Linked DNA regions of Homo sapiens: region 2 is linked to region 1. Evidence: promoter capture Hi-C in human tissues and cell types (Jung and others, 2019). All regions are on one chromosome and are shown on one strand. Each heading gives the region's core, a stretch centred on a gene start or on the middle of the fragment in contact. The rest is flanking DNA. Distances are from core to core; before and after follow the strand shown. Region 1 holds the start of SNAPC3 (small nuclear RNA activating complex polypeptide 3). Region 2 overlaps CCDC171 (coiled-coil domain containing 171).

The links. The method cuts DNA at HindIII sites, captures the fragments that hold promoters and counts their contacts. A contact is called where the count stands out against the background at its distance.
Region 2: a fragment that was not itself captured here is called in contact with the fragment with the promoter of SNAPC3 in region 1 in 1 of the 25 tissues and cell types used here (lymphoblastoid cells).

The regions. Positions count from the first base shown.
Region 1 is chr9:15,420,657-15,426,232 of GRCh38, reverse strand. SNAPC3 (small nuclear RNA activating complex polypeptide 3) reads right to left here and starts at 3,357. Exons shown (of 9, transcript NM_001039697.2): 1 at 3,040-3,357; 2 at 2,247-2,324. The coding sequence starts at 3,353. RefSeq lists an enhancer at 2,881-3,000 and a silencer at 3,341-3,630. The HindIII fragment of the contact is 4,082 bases long and covers 1,482-5,563 here.
Region 2 is chr9:15,667,077-15,672,652 of GRCh38, reverse strand. All of the region lies in intron 9 of CCDC171 (coiled-coil domain containing 171), which reads right to left. Among named protein-coding and RNA genes, the nearest start is that of CCDC171, 120 kb to the right of the region's middle. The HindIII fragment of the contact is 3,605 bases long and covers 1,149-4,753 here.

The DNA of each region.
Region 1 (5,576 bases), core at 2,108-4,607:
CATATTCGAGGAACTGAAACACAGTGCAGTGTGGCTGGAACACTGCAGAGAGAAAGCTTAAAAAAAATCAGCAAGGTCGGGCCAGGTGCGGTGGCTCATATCTGTAATCCCAACACTTTGGGAGGCCGAGGTGGGTGGATCACGAGAGGTTGGCCAACATGGAGCCTGACCAACATGGAGAAACTCCGTCCCTACTAAAAATACAAAATTAAGCGTGGTGGCACATGCCTGTAATCCCAGCTACTTGGGAGGCTGAGGCAGGAGAATCACTTGAACCTAGGAGGCGGAGGTTGCCGTGAGCCGGGATCGCACCATTGCACTCAGGCCTGGGCAACAAGAGTGAAATTCCATCTCAAAAACAAAACAAAATGAAAACAGCAAGGTCCACTCCTTAGAGGCCTTTGTGAGCCACTACAGACTCAGGACTTCAGCCTAAGGGACATCAAAAGGTTTTAGGCAAGGGAGTGACAATCAGATGTGCATTTTAGACAAATACAACTAATCAATCAACAATAGTTACAGAGCACCAATTGGAGCAAGGCAGTATAGTAGGCTTGAGAACAATACACAGATGGGAGTTTGGACTCTCATTGAGCCTTCAAGGACTTTAGAAATGTTAAGAGTTTAAGGCAGTATAAATGCATCTGTTTCCTAAGGGAAAGATGGGTTGTGGTAATCTGGAAAGGAATCTTTGGGCTTTTAAAAAAGTGGTATGGGCAAGGTGTGGCGGCTCACGCATGTAATCCTAGCACTTTGGGAGAACGAGTTGGGCAGATCACATGAGGTCAGGAGTTGAAACCAGCCTGGCCAACATGGTGAAACCCGTCTCTACAAAAAATGCAAAAAAGTTAGGCAGCCGAGGGTGCAGGCACCGGTAATCCCAGCTACTCCGGAGGCTGAGGCAGGAGAATCGCTTGAACCCGGAGGCAGAAGTTGCAGTGAGCAGAGATCACGCCACTGCACTCCAGCCTGGGCAACAGAGTGAGACTGCATCTCAAAAAAATAACGTAACATAACATAACATAGAAGTGGTATGTTTCAGATGGGAGAGAGGCCACATGCATCCTGAGCCATCTGAAAGAGAAAGTGGTTGAAAATAAATCTGGAAAGGCAAATTTGGGATATATGTGGAAGGCTTCAAATGTCTAGCTAAGGAGTTTGAAATTTTTCCATATAGGAGATGTAGGGCCATAGACCATTTTTAAGCAAAATGGCTTGCTCAGGCGACAGCATGATGGATAAATCAGTGGGAGAAATGACTGTACTTATCAAAGACACTTAAGAACCTTGCACAGTGCTCCAGGTGTTGCTGCTGTAAAAGTCAGCAGTAGGGACCAGGGGAACAGATTTAGCAGTTATTATGAAAGAAAACCCAAGTAGAGTTGAAATGACTGCCTGAATATTTGAGGGGGATAATAGCGTAGGATCAAGAACGACAGAACATAGCTGAGGTAGTATGAAATAAGTGGACTATAAATTGGAAATTATAAATTTCACTATTACATGCACAATTTCTCTATATTATCATACAACAGTGCCTCTCAAAGAGTGGTAGGCAGACCAGAATTCATCTATGACCTATTTGTTAACCAATCTGTACAGAAAATGACAGTAAGCATTTAGAAACTTCCATTATCATTGAATAATTTTGTCTATTGAATTTAATTAAAAATTTGAACTTATATTGTGTTTGTCTTTTTTAATTCCATTTTTCTAGTAATTCTTTTTATAGTATTTTATCAAAGCATAAATCTGTCAAAGATTAAAAATTTTTAAAAACAAGAACTGTCCTTTACCACAAATAGTTTGAAAAACACTGTCAGAGTATTTAGGTTGCCCCCCAGATCTAAGTAGATTACCTCTATAAACAAACATTCAAAAATATTAAAAAATAAACACAAGTTTGAATATGGACTGAATATTATAGATTATGTATTTACGGTTTTCTTAGGTATAATAATACCACAATAATTATGTAGGAGAATGATACTTTTAGAAGCTATATGCTTATGTATTTACGGGTAAATTATCATGTCTAACTTACTGAATGGGGGATAGCAAAATGAAAAAACACACAGCAGGCATCCCATACACACGGCTAAAGTAAATATGGTCAAATATTAAGAACAGCTGAATTTAAGGGGTGGGTATACAGACAACAATCAATACTGCACTTTCAACTTTTCAAAACATAATGTTGAAAAAATGTTTAAATAAATAGGTCATAAAAACCAAGTCCTCCATACCCCAAAGTCACCAGGTCAGTATTCTCCGGAATGACTTCTGGATCCTCACCGTCCTCAAGGCATTTCAGTTTATCAAGGCTAAAACAAAAAGGAAAAGCAATACTTTAAGGTCGACTCTGCATCTGGTTCACAGCGAGTTAGGGTTGTTTTCCTAAATACATTACTGAATTACGAAGTCAGATAAAATCCAGCAGGCGGCTCAGAGAGGCCAGAACTTAAGACAACGATTTCTGTGATTATATTTTATAATGAAAAGGCCGATGAAGGCAGCCAGTACTGTTAAATGGAGAAAGAGATTAAAGTTATTTTTATATTTTCATCCCCAAATAAGGCACTTTTAAGAAATATTTCAGTAACAGAATACCCGGAAGGTCCCCAAAAGAAACCAGTTAGTCGGGGTTTTAACACTCCTCTGATGAAGTCTCCCGCAGCTTCACCATTACTCAGGTTCCTCCATTGTCAAAGTGTCTGTCAATGGCAGGTACACGTCGCTGTTGCCCTGATTGCTTTTCTTTATTAACAAGCACTCTTAGAATAAGCAAATGGAAAAACTAGTCTTTGATGCAGCTGTCTTGTCCCTTTGCTCCAACTCGTAGAAACTGTGCATTCGGGTCCCAGGACTTCTCCTGGTGTCCCAGGAAGGCTCCAGCGGGTTGAAAGCTTTAAAGGGTAATACTCCTAGCCCAGGTCTAAACCACAGGCCCTTCTCAGGGATGAGTCCCAGAGGAGCGCACGAGCAAGGCTGCACCCTGTTTGACCCCAAGCTGCAAGAGCCCCTTTGCTCCGCACTCACCCGCACACCGCCCTCAGCTCAGCCGCCGCCTCCAGGCTGCAGTCCAGATCCCTGGCCACCGCGGCATCCTCCCGGTCGGAGTCAGCTGCCTGGCTCCCAGGCAGAGCGGATGCCGGCGGCTCCCTCAGCGACAAGTCCCCGGCCCCGCGCAGACGGCCCCGCCACAGCTCCCCAAAGGCGCCCACATGGAAAGCGCGCGTATTTAGCTCGGGAAGCTCATACTCTGGAAAGTTGCAGCCGCCACTGCCGGAGACTGGGTCCTGCCTGCCACCCACCCCGCTACACGTAGGGCCACCTCGGCTTCCTTCAGCCATGTTCGCCCCACTCCTTCCCCTGCAAAAGCCTGCAGATCAAGGCCTCGCAGAGCGTGATGGAAGTTGTAGTTGCTTGGGGCGCCCGGCCGGCGAGCGGCGAGGCGGCGCGGGCAGGGCATCAGAAACTACATTTCCCGGCAGGCCATGGGCAGGCCCGCCCCAGGGCGCGGCACCGCGAGGCTCTACGTGCAGGGCGCAGCATTGTTCTCCGACCCGGGCGGTGCGGGAACCGTTGCGGCTGTCGGTTAACCGCAGCGGGTGGGGCTGGGTTTCTGGTCCCCGAGTTACGTAGCAACTGTCTCTGCCCGGTAGGGCGGCCTCGCCAGGCGCTTAGGCCCCGTTCCTTGCGGCTTTCGGACTAAGGGGTGCAGGGCTTTTTCTTGACTGGGGTTCAAGGACTGCTCTGCTGCCTGATTGCTTTAGAGCCTAAGAAACAAGGAGGGCGAGGGCCGAGACCAGGGACACGACCAGCCCTCCAGATCTGGTTCTTTCACAAGCTCCGCAGAGGCCCCATGTTGGTGTGCGTGTGCAGTAGTGTTTCAGAGCGTCTGTGTATCACACGCTACATGATTAACCCTAATGTATGTTTTTAATGTTTTTAAAAATTACAACAACCTTTCCGGATAGGGCGTATCACCCCGTGTTGCTGTTGAGGAAGGATTTACCTGCGGGGAAAATAGAAGCAGGATCGGAACTCAGTCTGGCTTCAGATGGAGCTCTCTCCATTTCTCAGAGGCCCTGAAGGATACAGCAGGACATACTATTTATTTATTAGACTGTAATCACATGCCATATAATTCACCCATTTGAAGTGTTCAGTGATTTTTGGTATATTCACAGGCTTGGGCAACCATCACCACTATTTGAGAGCATTTTTACCACTCGAAAGAAGAAACTTGTACTTTTTAGCTATCACCCCTGATCCTCCCAACTCCTCCAGCCCTAGCCAACCAAGAACCTACTTTGTCTCTCTAGATTTAACTAATCTGGACATTTAATATAAACGGAATTATATGGTCTTTTGGTGGCTGGCTTAATGTTTACAAGGTTTGTTACAGGTAGTTAGGCATGAGCAGGGCAGGAGAGGGCTCTTCCCTCACCCACTAGGAATGTGGGGTGATGCTTAGGCATTTATCACATTGCCTCTAAAAGTGATAAATTGGCAGCCGGTGCCAGGGAGAGGCCATTTCCTGATGGCCCACACCTGTTGCACTAAAGTGCTCGTTGAATGCAGGTGACAGGGAGAAGCAACTTCCTGGGCATATGCATTAAGAGACAAAATCGGGGAGTATGACCTTTCAGGGGGACTCTATCGGAAAAGGGAAGAAAGCCTCAGATGGGCACGCATACAACTTCATACATATTGCGCTGTGCTCACTTCCCAAGGGTAAGGAGGGCACTGCGCATGGAGGCAGCCCACCCTAAGGGAAGAATCATGGGAAAGGAGCCAGCCTGTAAAGTCCTAGGATCGAGGTCAATATCACAGTTGACCTCAGTGACAGCTTGGGACTCTTCCGAGCGTGCTTTCCTTTCTTTCCTAAAGGCCTTTTAAATAAGCTTCCACTCCTGCTCTGAAACTTGCCTCAGTCTCTTTTTGTGCCTTATTGCCCCTCGGTCAAATTCTTTCTTCTGAGGAGGCAAGAACTGAAGTTGCTGCAGACCCATACAGATTTGCCCTGGTAACTTGGATACCTGCCACCTGTAACACGTTCATCCATTTTGTAGTATGTGTCAGTACTTCATTCCTTTTTTGGCTGAATAATATTGCATTGTATGTATATGCCACATTTTATTTATCAAAAAGTTTTTACCTTTTGGCGTTGCTATGAACATTCATGTACACATTTTTGTGCAAATACGTTTTCATTTCTCTTGGGCATGTGCCCAGTAGTATACAGTCAGCCCTCCCTATCTGTGGGTTCTGCATCCTCCAATTCAACCAACCACATATCAAAAATTACAGTATTCCCAGGTTGCAGAACCTGAGGATAAGAGGAATTTTCCTATGGGCGGATTCCACAGGGCTGACTGCAAGAAGAGCATCTGTCAATTTTGGAGTCCACAGGGGTCTTCGAAACAGTCCACCCTGCAGATACCAAGGGATTTCTGTATTTATGGAACTCTATTTTCAACTATTTGAGGAACTGCCAGATTTTTTTAAAGTGGCTGTCCCATTTTACTCCCCTCCCCAGCAGGATTCTCCACATCCTTGCCAACACTTAT
Region 2 (5,576 bases), core at 1,702-4,201, 250 kb before region 1:
CTGATCTTCAACAAACCTGACAAAAACAAGAAACGGGGAAAGGATTCCCTATTTAATAAATGGTGTTCAGAAATTGGCTAGCCATATGCAGAAAGCTGAAACTGGATCCCTTCCTTACACCTTATACAAAAATTAACTCAAGATGGATTAAAGACTTAAATGTAAGACCTAAAACCATAAAAACCCTAGAAGAAAACCTATGCAAAACCATTCAGGACATAGGCATGAGCAAAGACTTCATGACTAAAACACCAAAAGCAATGGCAACAAAAGTCAAAATGGACAAAATGGGATTGAATTAAACTAAAGAGCTTCTGCACAGCAAAAGAAAGTATCATCAGAGTAAACAGGCAACTTACAGAATGGGAGAAAATTTTTGCAATTTATCCATCTGACAAAGGGCTAATATCCAGAATCTACAAAGAACTTAAACAAATTTACAAGAAAAAAACAAACAACCCCATCAAAAAGTGGGCAAAGGATATGAACAGACACTACTCAAAAGAAGATATTTATGCAGCCAACAGACATATGAAAAAACGCTCATGATCACTGGTCATCAGAGAAATGCAAATCAAAACCACAATGAGATACCATCTCACACCAGTTAGAATGGCGATCATTAAAAAGTCAGGAAACAACAGGTGCTGGAGAGGATGTGGAGAAATAGGAATGCTTTGACACTGTTGGGAGTGTAAATTAGTTCAACCATTGTGGAAGACAGTGTGGCAATTCCTCAAGGATCTAGAACTAGAAATACCACTTGACGCAGCGATCCCATTACTGGGTATATACCCAAAGGATTATAAATCATGCTGCTATAAAGACACATGCACATGTATGTTTATTGCGGCACTATTCACAAAGACTTGGAACCAACTCAAATGTCCATCAATGATAGACTGGGTTAAGAAAATGTGGCACATATACACTATGGAATACTATACAGCCATAAAAAAGGATGAGCTCACGTCCTTTGCAGCGACATGGATGAAGCTGGAAACCATCATTCTGAGCAAACTATCACAAGGACAGAAAACCAAACACTGCATGTTGTCACTCATAGGTGGGAATTGAACAATGACAACACATGTACACAGGGCAGGGAACATCACACACTGGGGCCTGGCAGGGGGTGGGGGGCTGGGGGAGGGATAGCATTAGGAGAAAGACCTAATGTGAAGACCTAATGTAAGCGAGTTGATGGATGCAGCAAACCAACGTGGCACATGTATACCTATGTAACAAACCTGCACGTTGTATACATGTATCCTAGAACTTAAGGCCAAAAAATAAAGATAAAAATAAATTTAAAAAAAAAACTTTTCCAGACTGGAAAAAGTAGACAGAAGAGTCCAGGAGGAACATCTCTTAGAAGAAATTTAAAATGATAGCGTCTCTGAGGTGTAGGAACATGAGAGACTTTCGGTTCTGTTAGTGTTTACAAATAATTTAATAAGTGATTGGTTAATCACATGAACTAATACAGTTTAAAATGAGGCAATTATTAACTATTCTCATCTGTTGATTCTGCAAGTATTTTCTGTTTTGTTTTGGTTTTTAGACAGCGTCTCACTTGGTCGCCCACACTGAAGTACAGTGGCATGATCATAGCTCACTGCAGCCTCGAACTACTCAGCATAAGCAATCCTTATACCTCAGCCTCCCAAGTAGCTGGGACTACAAACATGCGCCACCAAAAGCAATCCTCCCCCACCTCGGCCTCCAGCAATCCTCCCACCAGAGCCTCCCAAAGTGCTGGGATTACAGGTATAAGCCACCACATCCAGCCCAATTCCATAAATCTTTATTTAGCAGCTCTTATGTACCTTTCTAGGCACTGACAAGACAGCAATAAACAAAACAAAGTTTCTTGTTACATAAGACAGACAATAAATAACAAAGAACACAATAAAATGTGCTATAAAAAAAGATGGGTTAACAAAAATTAAACTGTAGAAAAAATAAAGTATGCTGAACCCAAAAATATAACTCTATGGAAAGGATGGGAAGAGGGAAGGAGTGTCTGTGGTGTGGGAGAAGCATATAATAGAGATATATAAGTAGAAGCCAATAGATATTTAAAGGTAGAAACTGAAAAAAATGGCATACTATGCCTGTTATTTAGAAATATGAAATCAAATATCAGAAGAACCAGCAATAAGATTTGAAAGTAGATGCATCAAAGGAGTAGAAACTGATAGTAGAGAGCAATGGGGCATGAAACTGCTGTTTTTCATGAGCCTAACAGTACCATTTTATTCATTAGACTGTGTACATGTATTAATTTGATAAAATCAAGATTTTAGTTAAAAACTGCTGTTACTCAAAAAATAGATAATTAAGTGCATCTGTCATTACACACACAATACACACACAGCTTTTTTTTTGGTACTATTTTATAAATAAAGGCCAAACTGTGTCCACTGAAATGGGGGAACACACCTTGCTGTTGAGCATTCTGGCGGACAAAAAAGCTGGCTCCTACCATGCTGCTAAACTCCCAACCAAGAAGGAGTAAGTGGAGCAAGAGTAGGGCAGGTTAAGGAGATGCCTTGTCTCTGAATTCTGATGGGAAAGGGCCAGGACTTAAAAGGTGGAGGATTTAGGCAAGAAAGGGAAGAGAGGAGAAGTAAGTTTGTAGCTAGGATCCCTTCTTTCCTACTGGAGTCCCATTCTTTTTTTTTTTTTTTTTTTTTTAAGACTTCAGCTAAGAATTTGACAATAACAGGGTATTTTAACAAATAGCCATCTTTGGACTATGTTTTACATATAATGTAAACAAAAATAATGCTACTAAGTTACAATACCGTTGATATGTTTATCCTTTTGGGTGATATATTTAGAAAAATAAATTCCTAAATATTGAGTCTAAGAAATAAATTTAGATGCAGTCCATTCAGCATGATATATTTGACTAATGATGTTTCAAATTAAATTTATGTTTCAACTATACCTAAGGATTACTATGATCTCTTTCTCCCTACTATTGCCCAGCAATCAGTTGTCACAGCTAATGAAGACTTTACTATATTTGAAAATTCAGATGGTTAATGGGTACAAAAATACAGTTAGATGGAAGGAACAGGATCTAGTGTTTGGTGGCACAACAGGGCAACTATAGTTAACAATAATCTATCACATATTTCAAAATAACTAAAAAAGTGGAATTGGAATGTTCCTAACATAAATAAATGATAAATGCCTGAGTTAATGGATAGCCCAATTACCCTGATTTGATCATCACACATTGTATGCTTGTATAAAAATATCACACATACCCCATAAATATGTACAACTATTATTTACCCATAATTAAAAATAAAAAATGTTTAAAAAGAAAACAAAAGATTATTGAAAAGCTTTGGTTTCATACTGCAAGTTTTAGATGGAAAAAAATTTATTCTAAGAAATTTTGATTATAGAATTATGGAATATATACATTCCATCTAAAATAATTTCATGTAGGAATGTCTACTGTTATGAAACTATGGACCAAAACTATAACTCTGCAATATACACACAGCTTTTTTTCTCCTGCCTTTAGTGAGATCCTGCCGAGGTCTGCCTGGCAAGAAACAGAAGCTTAAAGAACCTTAACCAATGGCAGGTTCAAGCATGATAAACTGCTACGTCAGTTCACAACAGGTAAAACAATATACTGCTCCAAAACTCCACATTCTCAAAGTTGTAAGTTAAAGGTATTATTTACCTTAAAGACCTAAAATCTATCAATTCTCTATTTGGAATACATTAACCAAAACTTAGAACTACTTTGAAACAACAGAATTTTTTTCAGAAATTCAGAATCTTCTTTAAAAAATATTTAAAAAATTCAGAATCATCTTTAAAAAAGGTTTTTTAAAGATGATTCTGAAGTATGGTCAGAAGTACAGGCAGAAAATGGAAAATGGAAGTACAGGTAGATCCCTCAAGTCACATCATTCCTTCTTATACTACAGATAGTAGGGATGGAAGTGGCTTTCATTTCACATACACGGAAAAGGAAGATGGGATGGAAAAGGAAAGTCACAGAAATTTTCAGTGATTATTGGGTTTAGTTATTACTTGTCATTATTTATTTATTATTATTTAACTTGTATTATTATGACAGTTATATACAGATGAAGAAGATATAAGGGACATTATGTTAAAGCATTAGGAGTGTTAGTTAGCTAGTGCCTAGTTGGAATATGTAACTAATGTTTAGAATTGTCAGTTGGTGCTTACTGGAATACTAAATTTGAGTAAAAATTTTCAAGTACCAAAATACAAATAACAGCAAAACAAAACTTAAGGAAAAAAACTGCTTTGGGGTCCAATTAGGAAAGTATATAGGTTAGACTCAGAGCTTAAGTGTTAGCAAGTAGGTTAAAATTCCTCCAGTCCAATCTTTATAAGACTCTCTTCTTCAACATCCATGACAGAGAATCATCCACTCTGTGTTTTGAATTTCCCAAGGCAGGGAACTCACTAGTTCCCTGAAAGATGTCTATTATTTCATTGCTAGAAAGCTTTAATTATTGGGAGCTCATTCTGACTTCTTACAGTTTTACTTGTAGGTCCTAATCATTACCTTAAAGCAAAAGTAAAGAAATCTGCACTATATTCTACATAAAAGCCTTTCAAATAGATTTATATGCAGAATAATATTTGAATACATATTTGAATAATATTTGAATACATTCAAATGTATTAAATGTATGCATTCAAGCAATGGTTCAAAGAACATAAAGGATAAATAAGTCCTTAGAATAACATTCACAGAATGTCATTTAAGTCATACTAGAGGGAAGCAAGGAAATTCAGTTAAGAATTATTGGTTTAAAATATTATAAGCATTATTAATTAAAGAAACAAACAGTTTAAGAGTTTTTAATGTTTTCAGTCTTTCAGGTGCAATCTTCGTGATTTTTGTCACACTCACAAAAATTACCGCTATTTAAATCACACTTTCACTTAAGTTAACTCACTTCTTATAATAAATGAAGCTTTTCTCTTTTTTTTGAGATGCAGTCTCCCTCTGTTGCCCAGGCTGGAGTGCAATGGCGCGATCTCAGCTCACTGCAACCTCTGCCTCCCGGGTTCAGGTGATTCTTCTGCCTCAGCCTCCCAGGTAGGTGGGATTACAGGTGCCCGCCACCACACCTGGCTAATTTTTTTATTTTTAGTAGAGACAGGGTTTCACCATGTTAGCCAGGCTGGTCTCGAACTCCTGAACTCAGGTGATCTACCCGCGTCAGCCTCCCAAAGTGCTGGGATTACAGGTGTAAGCCACCGTGCCCAGCCAATAAAGCATTTTAAAAGGGATCTTTATATTGTGGCTATAAATGGAAAACCATTATCTACTTGCCATAAATAGAAACTAAGATTAAAATATAATTCTAATATGCCAATGTATTATCATGCCACATACTAATGGTAGTATGAATTTCACCCTCTGGGGGGGGAAATGGTTTAAAATGTCTACTATTGACTTATTTTTGGAAACATATTAATGCATTATAAACTTCTTAAATCATTTCACAGAATTTTGAAGATGAAAGGCTTTTAAACTGAAAAAGGTTAAAATCAGT